2 separate regions of the Homo sapiens genome follow, and region 1 is linked to region 2. The links are contacts of gene promoters, found by promoter capture Hi-C in human tissues and cell types (Jung and others, 2019). All regions are on one chromosome and are shown on one strand. Each heading gives the region's core, a stretch centred on a gene start or on the middle of the fragment in contact. The rest is flanking DNA. Distances are from core to core; before and after follow the strand shown.

Region 1 (6,043 bases), core at 2,027-4,526, 180 kb before region 2:
ACAGATGGATTCCTTGTTTTATCCCAGAAACATTTAAGGTGGCAAAATACGATTATTTTCCATTCTTATAAATGATACTAATTGTGATAGGAGGGGTTTGGAGGAAGCCAATCAGGCTGGATTCCCCCCGCCTCCCAGTCACCCTAGCATAGTGGTTTGCAAACCTTGCTACAGGCTGATCCTCTGGAGCTGTTTAAAAAAAAAAAAAAAATCACTGACCAAGCTTTGGGCATCGGTGTTTTTAAAGGCTCTCCAGGTGATTGTGATGTACAGCTGTGCTGGAGACCCACTGCCACAAGGGCAATGGCAGTGGCAATGGGTACTGACCTGGGGCCAGCCAATGAGCTCTGGGATTCCATGCCAGCCCTAAATTCAGGAATTCCTAGAATAAGATATGCAGATGGCAATTTAGGGGTCACTCAGCTGCCCCACCTCTTAGGTCTGAGACTCTCACTCATGCCAAGGACATTAGGGCTTTCTCACAAGGTGACCTGTGACATTTTAAAAGAAGAGGTAAGAGAGGCCGAGCATAGCCCAAAGCAAAGGTGCTATAATGGGGGTCTCATCTGCAGTGAGCATCCAGGAGCGGATCACTCACTCAGCAGTCCATCCTGCTGTACCTTCGACATGGCCCATAGGACCCTGTCTCTCCCTCCAGCCCACACACCCCCACCACCCTCCACTGCAGGGGAAAGGGCCCTGTAAGGGCACTCAGGCCCTGGCCGCCCCCTCTACTCTCCCTCTGCCTCTGCTGGGAAAGAGGCGCCTGTTCCTGGCTGTGGGCCTCACCCCCCTCTTCCCAAAAGCACCGACCGTCTGTCTGTTGAAATTCTCCGGCAACGCACTCTTAAAAATAACGGTTCACCCGGCATTCCCAGTCACGACTCCCATCTCTCGCCCTGGAAAAGCCCCCTCTAATCACTGGAGTGGCAGATCTGGTGAGCTTAGAAGATAATGTGCCCCTGGCTAAGGGGAACTCCAGAGAGAAGCTGGGGTCTGAATTAATTAAGAACTCAGCCCCCTCCTTTTCCTGACCGCCGCCCGCCCCCCCAGGAGGTGGCTGCACCTGCCTTCCTATCTCTGTTTCTCTCTTTATCAACACGTGAGCAGCTGCCGTCAGCACACAGTGGATCCTGAGTTTACAGCAGGAGGCAGCCGACCAGTCCCACTCCCCGTGAAACTCTTGGGGAGCCTGGATGCCTGGAAGCTTTCAGGCTGCCCCTCAGAGAGCTCCCTGCCAGCCCAGCCAGAGAGCCCCATCTTCTAAGTCACTGCTTGGAAGTGAGGTGTGGTTTCCTCCTCCAGGAGATGTTCCTGAGGTCACTGGCAGGTGGAACATGTCAGTAATGAACATGTAGCCAAGATAGCAGAGGATGGAGCACCAGTGAGCACTCAGAGGTCTGGGCTGGTGAGGGGTTAGAAAGCACCAACATTCAGGGCACTGCTTAGAGAGGACAGGCTGGGATGAAGTATTCCACATCCTAGAATTATTTAATGTTATTGCTAATAGGACCCTTCGAGAATGTCTGGTTATTTACAAATGCTTATATAGCACTTGCTACGTGTTGTACACACAGTTTCAAATGCCCTGCAGATATTAACTCAATCTGTCTCTTCACCGACCTATTAACCCATTTATGCCTGAGGTTGCAATTTTTTGAATTTTTGCAATCAGACCTTGGCGAAGTCCTTGAGCAGTAGGATATAAATAACTCTCACATGCTTAGCGTTCCAATAATGGAACGCTAGGCATAATTGGGTCAATATTAGACCGATTTTGCAGGTGAGAAAATTGAGGCACAGGGAGGTCAAATGACCTGGCTTGGATTATACAGACATAAAACAGCAGAGCTGGAATCAGAACTACCCAGCACTGCTCATAATCACTATGCTCTGTTCATTTTCCAGGTGTGGAAACTGACATCAGAGAAGGCAGGGTCTTACCCAAGACCAAACACTGGGTCAGGGACACAGCCACGCCTGGAATTCAAGCCTCCTGCAGTCTCAATTTTTCCAGGCTTCATTCATTCATTCAGCAAATATTAATATATTAGAATTTACATGTACCATATCCCACAATGCTGGTAGCCCAGAGATAAATAAGACAGGGACCATGATCTTAAAGACGTCCCAACTTGGAGAGGTGGGGACATCATGGTTTTGCTGGCGAAGATCTACCTCCTTGGACTTGTCTGGCCCTTTTAGGATCAGGTCTTGAGAAAGCAGAAGTCTTGGAGTTTAGTTGCCCCGACCCATGTCTAGAAAGCATCCCACGTTTTAGTTTCTCCTTTGCAATATGGGGATAGAAATTGTACCAAACCACAGGATTTCTGCAAGGATACTTAAAATAATGAATGTAGATGCTCCACGTGCATGCTGTGTGCTCTGTGGTGAGGGGGTGGGGATGGCAGTGGTGATGACAGTGTTGTTGGGGGCCAGGGATGTGATGGTAATATTGGTGATTATGATGGGGGTAATAGTAGTAATAGGTGGGCTGGTGATTGTGGTTGTGGTGACTATGGAAGAGATGGTGGTGGTATTGGTGATGGTGATATTGGTGATGGTGATGGGGTTGGTGGTGGTGGTGAGGGTAGTGATGGTGATGGCTTTAGTATTATTTATGGTAGAGATGATGGGTGTAGTACTAGAGGATGTGGTTCTGGTGGTGGTGGTGCTAATTCTAATGGTGATGGTAGTGATGGTGATGACCTGATGGTGATGGTGGTGATGGCAGTGGTGATGGTAACAGTATAAGGATGGTGATGGTGGTACTCATAGTTATGTTGATAGACGCACTGATGATAATGCAAATAGTGGTATTGGTAATGGCTTAATGATGACAGTGGTAATAGTAATAGTGGTAGTGATGGCAAAGGTGGCCATGGTGGAGATGGGATGGTGATGGTGGTGTTGATGCTGACAGTGGTGATGGTGTTGGTGATGGCAGTGGGTGCTACTGGTGATTGTGGTGGCAAGCGTTGTAGTGATAATGCCAATGGTGCCAAGGTTGATGGTAATGGTGGTGGTGATTACAGTGATGATTACTTAACTTATGCCCAAATGTTCCCAGTTCTGGTCCTTGTACCAGCTTGGTTAACCCACAAATTTCTCAGCATGACCCCACTGCCTACTATTGTCCTCATAGTAGAGAGGAGGCTATCTAGATCTCCCACTTGATGCCTCTCCCCTTGCTCCTGTGCTCTCATTACAGACAATCATGCACAGCTATCCCGGGCATCCCTAAGGATCCGAATCCTGGATGTGAACGACAATCCCCCAGAACTGGCCACACCCTACGAGGCAGCTGTATGCGAGGATGCCAAGCCAGGCCAGGTACCCCTGAGGGGGTGGGGACTGGGCGTTGCTTCCAGGACTGGCCAGCAGCATCCTCTACCTCGACCCAGAGTGGTCTCAGCCTCACCACTAGCCCTCTATCCCCTCCTCACCCTTCAGCTCATCCAGACCATCAGCGTGGTGGACAGAGACGAGCCCCAAGGCGGGCACCGCTTCTATTTCCGCCTGGTGCCTGAAGCTCCCAGCAACCCTCATTTCTCTCTGCTTGACATCCAAGGTGAGCCTCCAAACCCTAGGATGCAAGAAGGGAGGGGCACAGTCTCCCTGCCCTGTTCCCATATTATAGACAGAGGGACGGAGGCGCCCACAGGGCCTATGTTGGATCTAAGATCACATGGAAAGTCTGGGCCAAGCTGGAGCTGTTACCCAGCCCACTGGCCAAACACAAGCAGGGTGTGGGTTGGTGGAGTGGAGGAGGGCGTCCCAAGGATAAGAAATGGCAGATGGGAAGATATAGACAGGGAATAAATGAGGAATGATTGTGCCAGAGTCCAGGGTGGAAAGAGCCCCCGTTCTGAGTGGAGACTGAAGTAAGCCACGTGCACACACTCCCCACCCTGCAGGTTTCTGGCTTTTTATTTGATTTTTTTTTTTTTTTTTTTGAGACAGGGTCTCGCTCTGTCAGCCAGGCTGGAGTGCAGTGGCTCGTTGCAACCTCCACCTCCCAGACACAAGCAATCCTCCTACCTCAGCCTCCCAAGTAGCTCGGAGCATAGATGTGTGCCACCATGCCCAGCTACTTTTCGTATTTTTTGTAGAGACGGGATTTTTGCCGTATTGCCCAGACTAGTCTTGAACTCCCAGGCTCAAGCTATCGGCCTGCCTCGGCCTCCCAAAGTGCTGGGATTATAGGCATGAGCCACTGTGCCCAGCCCACCCTGCAGTTTAAAAACTGCTTTATTCCACTCACATTCCTTTTTTGGTTTTTGGAATTGTTCTTGAAACAAGGTCTTGCTCTGTCACCCAGGCAGCAGTGCAGTGGTGCAATCATAGCTCACTACAGCCTTGATCTCCTAGGCTCAAGCAGTCCTGCGTCAGCCTCCTGAGTAGCTGGCACTACAGATGCACACCATCAGATCTGGCTAATTGTTTTATTTTTTGTAGAAATGGGGTCTTGCTGTGTTGCCCAGGCTGGTATCGAGCTCCTGGGCTCAAACAATCCTCCTACCTCGGCCTCCCAAAGAGCTGAGATTATAGGCATGAGACACCACGCCAGGCCCACTCACATTTCTTTCTGCAACCTCACAGCCATCCTGTGAGGTAGTTTTCTGACTCCTCTCCCCATTTTACAGGTGATGAAACTGAGACTCTAAGAGAGAAAGAGTCCTGCCCAGGGTCATATAGGGAGTCAGTGGTGTGGGTAGGATTCAACCCAACCCCATCCCAAGTCCAGTGTGCTTCCTGCCTCAGCACACCACCTGGAAAGCAAACTGCCCTGCCCTGCCTGAGTCCACTGTGAGATTCCTCCCCTCTGGCTCTCACAAGTTTCTCATGATGTTGATGTTTGAACCTTTAAGGAATAGACTGAGGGAAGGGGGCAGTCACCAGACTGGAAATAAGGGACCAGGCTCAGCGAAGGGTGCTCTATACCACCCTGGCAAGCTCCTGTTCCTCTCTGGTTTTTTTGTGTTTGTTGTTGTTTGTGTGTGTGTGTGTGTGTGTGTGTGTGTGTGTATGCGTGTGGGGTTTTTTTGTTGTTTTTTGTTTGTTTGTTTGTTTGAGACAGCATCTCATTCTGTTGCCCAGGCTGGAGTGCAGTGGTGCGATCTCAGCTCACTGCAACCTCTGCCTCCCAGGGTCAAGAGATTCTCTTGCCTCAGCCTTCAGAGTAGCTGGGGTTACAGGCACGCACCACCACGCCAGGCTAATTTTTGTATTTTTAGTAGAGACGAGGTTTCGCCATGTTGGCCAGGCTGGTCTCGAACTCCTGACCTCAGGTGATCTGCCCGCCTCGGCCTACCAAAGTGCTGGGGCGCCTGTTCCTCTCTAAGCCTCAGTTTCATCATCTAAAATGGGAGTAACACCTACTGCCTCGGGTGGCTAGGTAGCCCCAGTAAGATAAGGGCCACCAAGATATAGTGTTAATACCTAGAAATGTCAATTCCTACATCCAGCAATTATTTAGTGAGTGTTTATTGAGACACAAAGCCTCTGTGTCGGGGTCTGCTCCGGGTCCTGGAAATGCAACAGCAAACACAACAAAACCTAGTTTATATTCTAGTGAGGTGAGACAGAAATGACACAAATAAAAAAGTATGTTGGGGATGATAAGTGGCTGGGGTGGAGGAATAATGCAATCTCCACAAGGGTCTGGACTTGACTTTGTTCAACCCTAGGTGCCTGGAGCAGTGCTTGGCATATCGTAGGTGTTTGATAAAATGTGTTCAATGAAACAGTGAAAAATAAAGCAGGGCACAGTGGCTCAGCCCTGTAATCTCAACACTTTGGGAGGCTGAAGTGGGCGGATTAGTTGAGGTCAGAAGTTCGAGACCAGCCTGGCCAACATGGTGAAACTCAGTCTCTACTAAAAATACAAAAATTAGTCCAGCAGGGTGGCGCATGCCTGTAATCCCAGCTACTCCAGAGGCTGAGGCAGGAGAATTGCTTGAACCCAGGAGGCGGAGGTTGCAGTGAGGTGAGATCTCACCATTGCCCTCCAGCCCGGGCAACAAGAGCGAAACTCCATCTA
Region 2 (5,820 bases), core at 543-3,042:
GCTCTCCGTGGTCCTCCCTTCCCTGACCCCGCCCAGGTCTCTTGGATTTTCCCTCCTCACGTTCTCACCCGCGACACCAAACTGGATGACGATGTCTGCGTCCCGGCTGTACACGCGAGTGAAGGTGAGCGGCGTCACCGCGCTCCACAGTGCGAAGGCGCGGGCAAAGGCGTCGTCAATCACCGCCCGCGGCAAGTCTTCCGAGTAGTTTTGGATCCTGTAGCGTAAGAGCCAGAGGAAGGAGGTCAGAAGTGAAAGGCTGGAGCGGGGCAGCAGGGACACCCCATATCGCAGAGACTTCAACATACACAATGCTCTCTGCCGTCCACGCTCTCATCTATAAATTGCTTCCAGACTGTTTTTTTTTTTTTTTTTTTTGTCTACTTAGACCCTCACAATGGCCCTGGCAGGAGGACTTGGATTGCAAGAGCCATTTCCCTGAAGGAGAAACAGAGGCTCAGAGGTGGGGACACTCCCCAGGGGCCACACATTAAATAGTGAAACCCAGGGACGCGTCCAAGACAGGACATGTTCACCGCTGGCCCAAGAGCCAGACCTGGCCTCCCCGCCCCACCCCGCTGCCCCCACGGCCCCGGCTCACCAATAGGTGATGTTGTGGTGGTGCCACTTGAGGTCGCCCTCAAAGGTTTGGAATCTGCCCAGGTCTGGGACCCCGCACCGTGGGGTTCGCATGGCCTTCAGCGTGGCGCTATCCAGCTCACCGGTCTCGGGCAGGGACAGTTGCTTCTGGAGAAGCAGCAGCGCAGGCCCCAGAGATTTCGACTCTCCACGCATCTCTGCCACCCGAGTGTAACCATAGCGGTACAGGTATTCCTGTGGATGAAGGGACACACACATGCCAGATCTCTGACCCCTTTCTCTGCCCAGCTGGGGCCAAAGGACTCCCTCCAGACACTCATGGAGGGAGTCTTTTTTCTTTTTCTTTTTCGGAGAGACGGTATCAGCCCACTGCAGCCTGGACCTCCTGGACTCAAGCGATCCTCCCATCTCAGCCTTCTGCATAGCTGGAACTACAGGTGCACATCACTGTGCCTGGCTATTTCTTTAATTTTTTTGTAGAGACAGGATCTTACTATGTTGCCTAGGCTGGGCTCAAACTCCTGAGCTTCAGCGATCCTACCACCTCAGCCTCCCAAAGTGCTGGGATTACAAGTGTGAGCCGTCATGCCCAGCAGGGACTAACATTTAATAAAGCATTAAATGCTTTCCAGACACCAGTGCTTTCTGACCACCCAGGGATCTCCCCTCCTTAGACATCCTCAGCTCCTTCTCACCCCTGGATGCCTCTAGCCCATTTCTACCCCACAGCTGCATAAGGTTTGCCCCTGTTCACTCCCAGCCTATGCTTACCCCAGAACCCTCCAATGCCTCCCCCACCCCAAACCATTTCCCATTTCCCACCTAGGAAAGCCCCATTGCCCATTTCTGGCCATCACTGCTCAAAGCCTCCACAAGACCCCCCACTGCCTAACCCTGGACACCTCTGTTCTTCAGATACGCCCATCACCACCAACACACCCCTAAAGCATCTCCTCTGAGGCCCTGCATCCTCTCTGGGACACTCAACACCCTCACGGACAGCCCTCCCCAACTCTAGACTAGGTGTTTGCCCACCTCTGCCAGCTGCCTGTCGGTGAGATTGGTTCTCAGGTCTCCAGGGAAGAGCACAAGGGTGGACTGGCGCTGTCTGGGGGCAGCAAAGCAGCAGCCCAGCACCAGGAGCACCAGGACCAGGGGCTGCCAGAGGCTCATGGTGAGGGCAGAGGTGTCTGACTGCAGCTGCTGTTGTGGGGGCTTTAAGGAGGCGCTCCTGTGACCCCACCCCTCCTTGACAGGCAAGTGCTGACTCAGGGGTCAGGGTGTGTGTGTGTGTGTGTGTGTGTGTGTGTGTGTGTGTGTGTGTGTGGCAGCACCAGCATGAGAAAGGGCTTACACCACCTCCTCCTCTCTCCACTGCCCGCAGTCTCCACTGCCAAGTCAGGCAAGACCCCAGACCCGCAGGAAACCGCAGGCCCTCAGGGGAGGGGTAGGGTTTTGCAAACTGCAGAGCTTGTGGGAACTGTATGAAAGGGAGGGAGGGGGATGAAGCTGGAGGGATCCCCCATCCCTTGGTCTGAAAGCCTCCAGTGGTCAGCCAAGGGAAAGTGATGGAAGACTCCCTGAGACTTCTTTCTGAAACTAATGATCCCCCTGGCCCATCCTTGGCCTTTTGCAACACCCCCTCCCAGGTCAGATATCCTCCCCAAACCCCTCCCCACACTCCAGGCTCTGTCCTCTTTTTCCCTCCCTGACAGCCTTCTTTGACTCAGCTTCCTCTCCCTGCTTCATCTGGGGGCGGAAGGAATGGGCTCTGCTAGGCAAGGCTGGGGAATTCCACTGGGGCAACCCCCTGTCTTCCGCAGGCTGAATCTTCAGGGCAGTAAAGGGGACAGTAGCAGCCTCTAGAAAACAGCAGACATGGCTTTACTCTCTTCCTTCAGGACCTCGGGCAAATGTCTTACCACTTTGAAGTGTTTCCTCAGCTGTAAAAAAAAAAACGGGGGGTGGGGGGCTCTTTGTCCCTAAATTGATGTGAGGATTAAATGAGATCAAACATATAAAATGTTTAGAACACTGTAGGTTGTAAGTCCGCAACGGATGGTGGTGATTGGTTTTAATTACTAAGGCCAAGACCCAAGATTCAGGGCCAGGTATGGTGGCTCATTCCTGTAATCTTAGCACTTTGGGAGGCCGAGGTGGGAGGATTGCTTGAGCCCAGAAAGAAGGTCAAGGATACAGTGAGCCATGATTATGTCACTGCACTCCAGCCTGGGCAACAGAGCGAGACCCTGCCAAAAGACCATGATTCTAACTTGGAATCACCAAACCAGGTTATTGGGCTCTAAGCTGCAGTGTAACCTGGAGTAAATGCCTTCCCCTTTGTCAGCTTAGGATTCTTCAACTGCAAATTGGGGCAGGATATGGGGGAAAATAATCTATAGGAGCCCTTTCAGTTCTCCAGCCCTGCTCCATGCAGCCAAATCTCCAGCCCCAATTATCACACTTATGCCAAGCCTCCCTCCCAAGCCTCCCACACCAGCAGCCTCCCTCACTCCTTTCTTCCTAGCCAGCCGGCATCGGGCAGGGTCTATATTCACCTTCTTCAAAGCCCTATTTGGGAAAAACCTGCTAACAACTCAAAAAGTTGTATTTATTTATTTTATTTTATTTTTGGGGGGTGTAGTATCACTCTGTCACCCAGGCTGGAGTGCAGTGGCGTGATCTCGGCTCACTGCAACATCTGCCTCCCGGGTTCAAGCAATTCTCCTGCCTCAGCCTCCCGAGTAGCTGGTATTATAGGCGTGCGCCACCACGCCTGGCTAAATTTTTTGTATTTTTAGTAGAGATGGGGTTTCACTACGTTGACCAGGCTGGTTTCGAACTTCTGACTCAAGTGATCTGCCCACCTGGCCTCCCAAAGTGCTAGGATTACGGGCATGAGCCATGGCGCCCGGCCCAATAAGCTGTATTTAAAGGGCCTACTATGTGCCAGGCATTTTATATGCTTATCTAATAAATGAGACTGTGAGATGGAGATAATTAACTTCCTTTACAGAAAAGTTGAAGTTCTAAAGTTCACTAACCAATGAACATCTGCTTTGCAGTCACGAAGTCCTGGATTTCCATCCCGGCTCTGCCATTTTCCAGCTATGTGACCTTGGGCAAGTCACTTTACCTCTGAACCATAATAATAATAATGCATTTTTTGAGATTTACTGTGTCAAGCACCGTAATAAGTTCTCTATAAGCCTCTCGTTTCATCCTCACCACCTGTAAGGTAAGTTTAATGAGTATCCCTCCTGTTTTCAGAGGGGGAAACTAAGGCTCAGAGAGTTAAGGAATTTGCCTGTGATCACAGAGCGAGTTAATCCACAGAACTAGTGTTCAAGCCCAGAACTGCCTGGCTCTGAAGCTTTTCATCTTTATTACCATTTACAGGGAACTGTGATGACCCAGGTATAGAAGTGGGTAGGTGGATGCGGTGACAGGGGCAGCACATAAAACCTGGATGCTTCTCCTCTGGTCCCCTGCTACCCACTGAAGGTAAGAGAGGAGGCCCAGGCATTTAGGGAATCAGAGGCTAGGACAGGGGACCCAGGAGGAACTAGATTCTAGACTCGGGAATGTGAGGTCATAGAGTAATATGAGTTTAGAGGAACAGATCTTCCAATCTGGAGGATCTTCATCTGGGTGGCAGACACGGGCTTTTAGGAAAATCCGTTAACTACCCCCCACTTGCCATCAATGGTACCAAACATGACATACAATACATATCTATGTATGTATGTCACATAGCTCAAACTTAGCACTATTGGCACTTGGGGCTGTCGTGTGCATTGTAGGATGTTTAGCAGCGTCCCTGACCCCTACCCACTGGATGCCAGTAGCACCTCCCCCTGCCAGTTGTGACAACCAGAAATGTTACCAAACATTGCCAAATGTACCCTGGGTGAGTGGGAGGGGCAGACTCACCCCCAGCTACTGGTATATGTTGATTTTTCTATGTAAAGGGTCTAAAACTTTTATCAGATACTCAAACCATTGTTGATGATCTTCAGACCTTTTAAAGACCATTTACTCAACACATTCTAGTTGAGTTTTTCTAGGCCAATCATTATGCTAAGAATTGGGAATACAAGTAGTGACCAAGATAGCCTTTGTCTCATTGTTCATGGATCTGAGAGTTCAGCATGGGGAGAAATTGAATGAATAATTAATTACCAGAGAATCAGGCATCAAGAAAGGAAAGTGGATTTATGTATTCCAATTACCCTCATCATGCAATGAGGAAACTGAGGCTCAGAGTGGTCACAGAGCAAGAGCCTGCACTCTGGAGCCAGGCTGCCTAAGTTCAAATCTCAGCTCTGCCACTGACTTGCTGTGTGACAAGGGCAACTGACACAACATTTCAGTGCCTCAGTTTCCCCATCTGTAAAATTGGAGTAATAATAGTGCTTCCTTCATGGGGTGGTTGTAAGGCTCAAAGTGTTAGCAAATATAAAGTGCCTGGCACATGATAATAAGTGTTCACTGCTATGCTAATTAGGACCACCTTCAGGACAGCCGCTGTTTTTTACCAAATGGGAGCAGGGAGAGAGCAGCCAGGAAACCCAGATCTTGATTCCTGGAGTCAATCCAAATAAGAATCCTCCTTTTTTTAACATCCCCCCCAACTCCCATCAACTTCCTCCTTTACCTCCTGGCTCCCCAACCCCCATCAAGGGGAACTTGGACAGAGCTTGGCTTTCAACACTGCAGTGGCAGGAAGTGGTTCTGGTTACCACATCCCCTTCCCCACTTCCCCCAGCCTCTCTTTTTAATACCACAATAGAGTTTAGCCAAGACCCTGGGAGTGCAGGCAGAGAACAGCATATACCCTCACGTAGAGTCATAGCTTAGACTCTAAGCCCCTCACTGAGGTAGCTCCATCAGGATGGGGAGGGTGCTGACCCTGGAGTCCTGAATCACTAGCTGGATGACACAGCCCTGCAGGCCATTATTAATAACAGGCCCCCAGATCAGGGTCAGCCTCACGAGATGAGGAATCTGTCCCGCTATCTAGGATGGGGGAACTCCAAGCCTCTTTCTCCCAAACCTGCCAGAGAGGGGAGGGGCAGCCAGGCCAGAGAGGCTCTGGCAGGATGTGGAGGAGACACTGAAATCTGAGATGAAGTAGAAAGGTGTGTATCCTGCAAGACATTGCCTCAGGGGAGAGCATCACTCAAGTACCCCACCCCCAACCCACAAACACACCTGCCA

The links. The method cuts DNA at HindIII sites, captures the fragments that hold promoters and counts their contacts. A contact is called where the count stands out against the background at its distance.
Region 1: a contact is called between a fragment that was not itself captured here and the fragment with the promoter of MMP9 in region 2, in 1 of the 25 tissues and cell types used here (spleen).

Annotation. Positions count from the first base shown.
Region 1 is chr20:46,184,116-46,190,158 of GRCh38, reverse strand. CDH22 (cadherin 22) reads left to right here. Exons shown (of 12, transcript NM_021248.3): 9 at 3,212-3,333; 10 at 3,454-3,571. Among named protein-coding and RNA genes, the nearest start is that of CD40, 69 kb to the right of the region's middle. The HindIII fragment of the contact is 5,122 bases long and covers 716-5,837 here.
Region 2 is chr20:46,004,880-46,010,699 of GRCh38, reverse strand. It overlaps MMP9 (matrix metallopeptidase 9), which reads right to left and starts at 1,792. Exons shown (of 13, transcript NM_004994.3): 1 at 1,636-1,792; 2 at 602-834; 3 at 69-217. The coding sequence starts at 1,773. RefSeq lists an enhancer at 5,385-5,820. The HindIII fragment of the contact is 9,924 bases long and covers 1-5,820 here.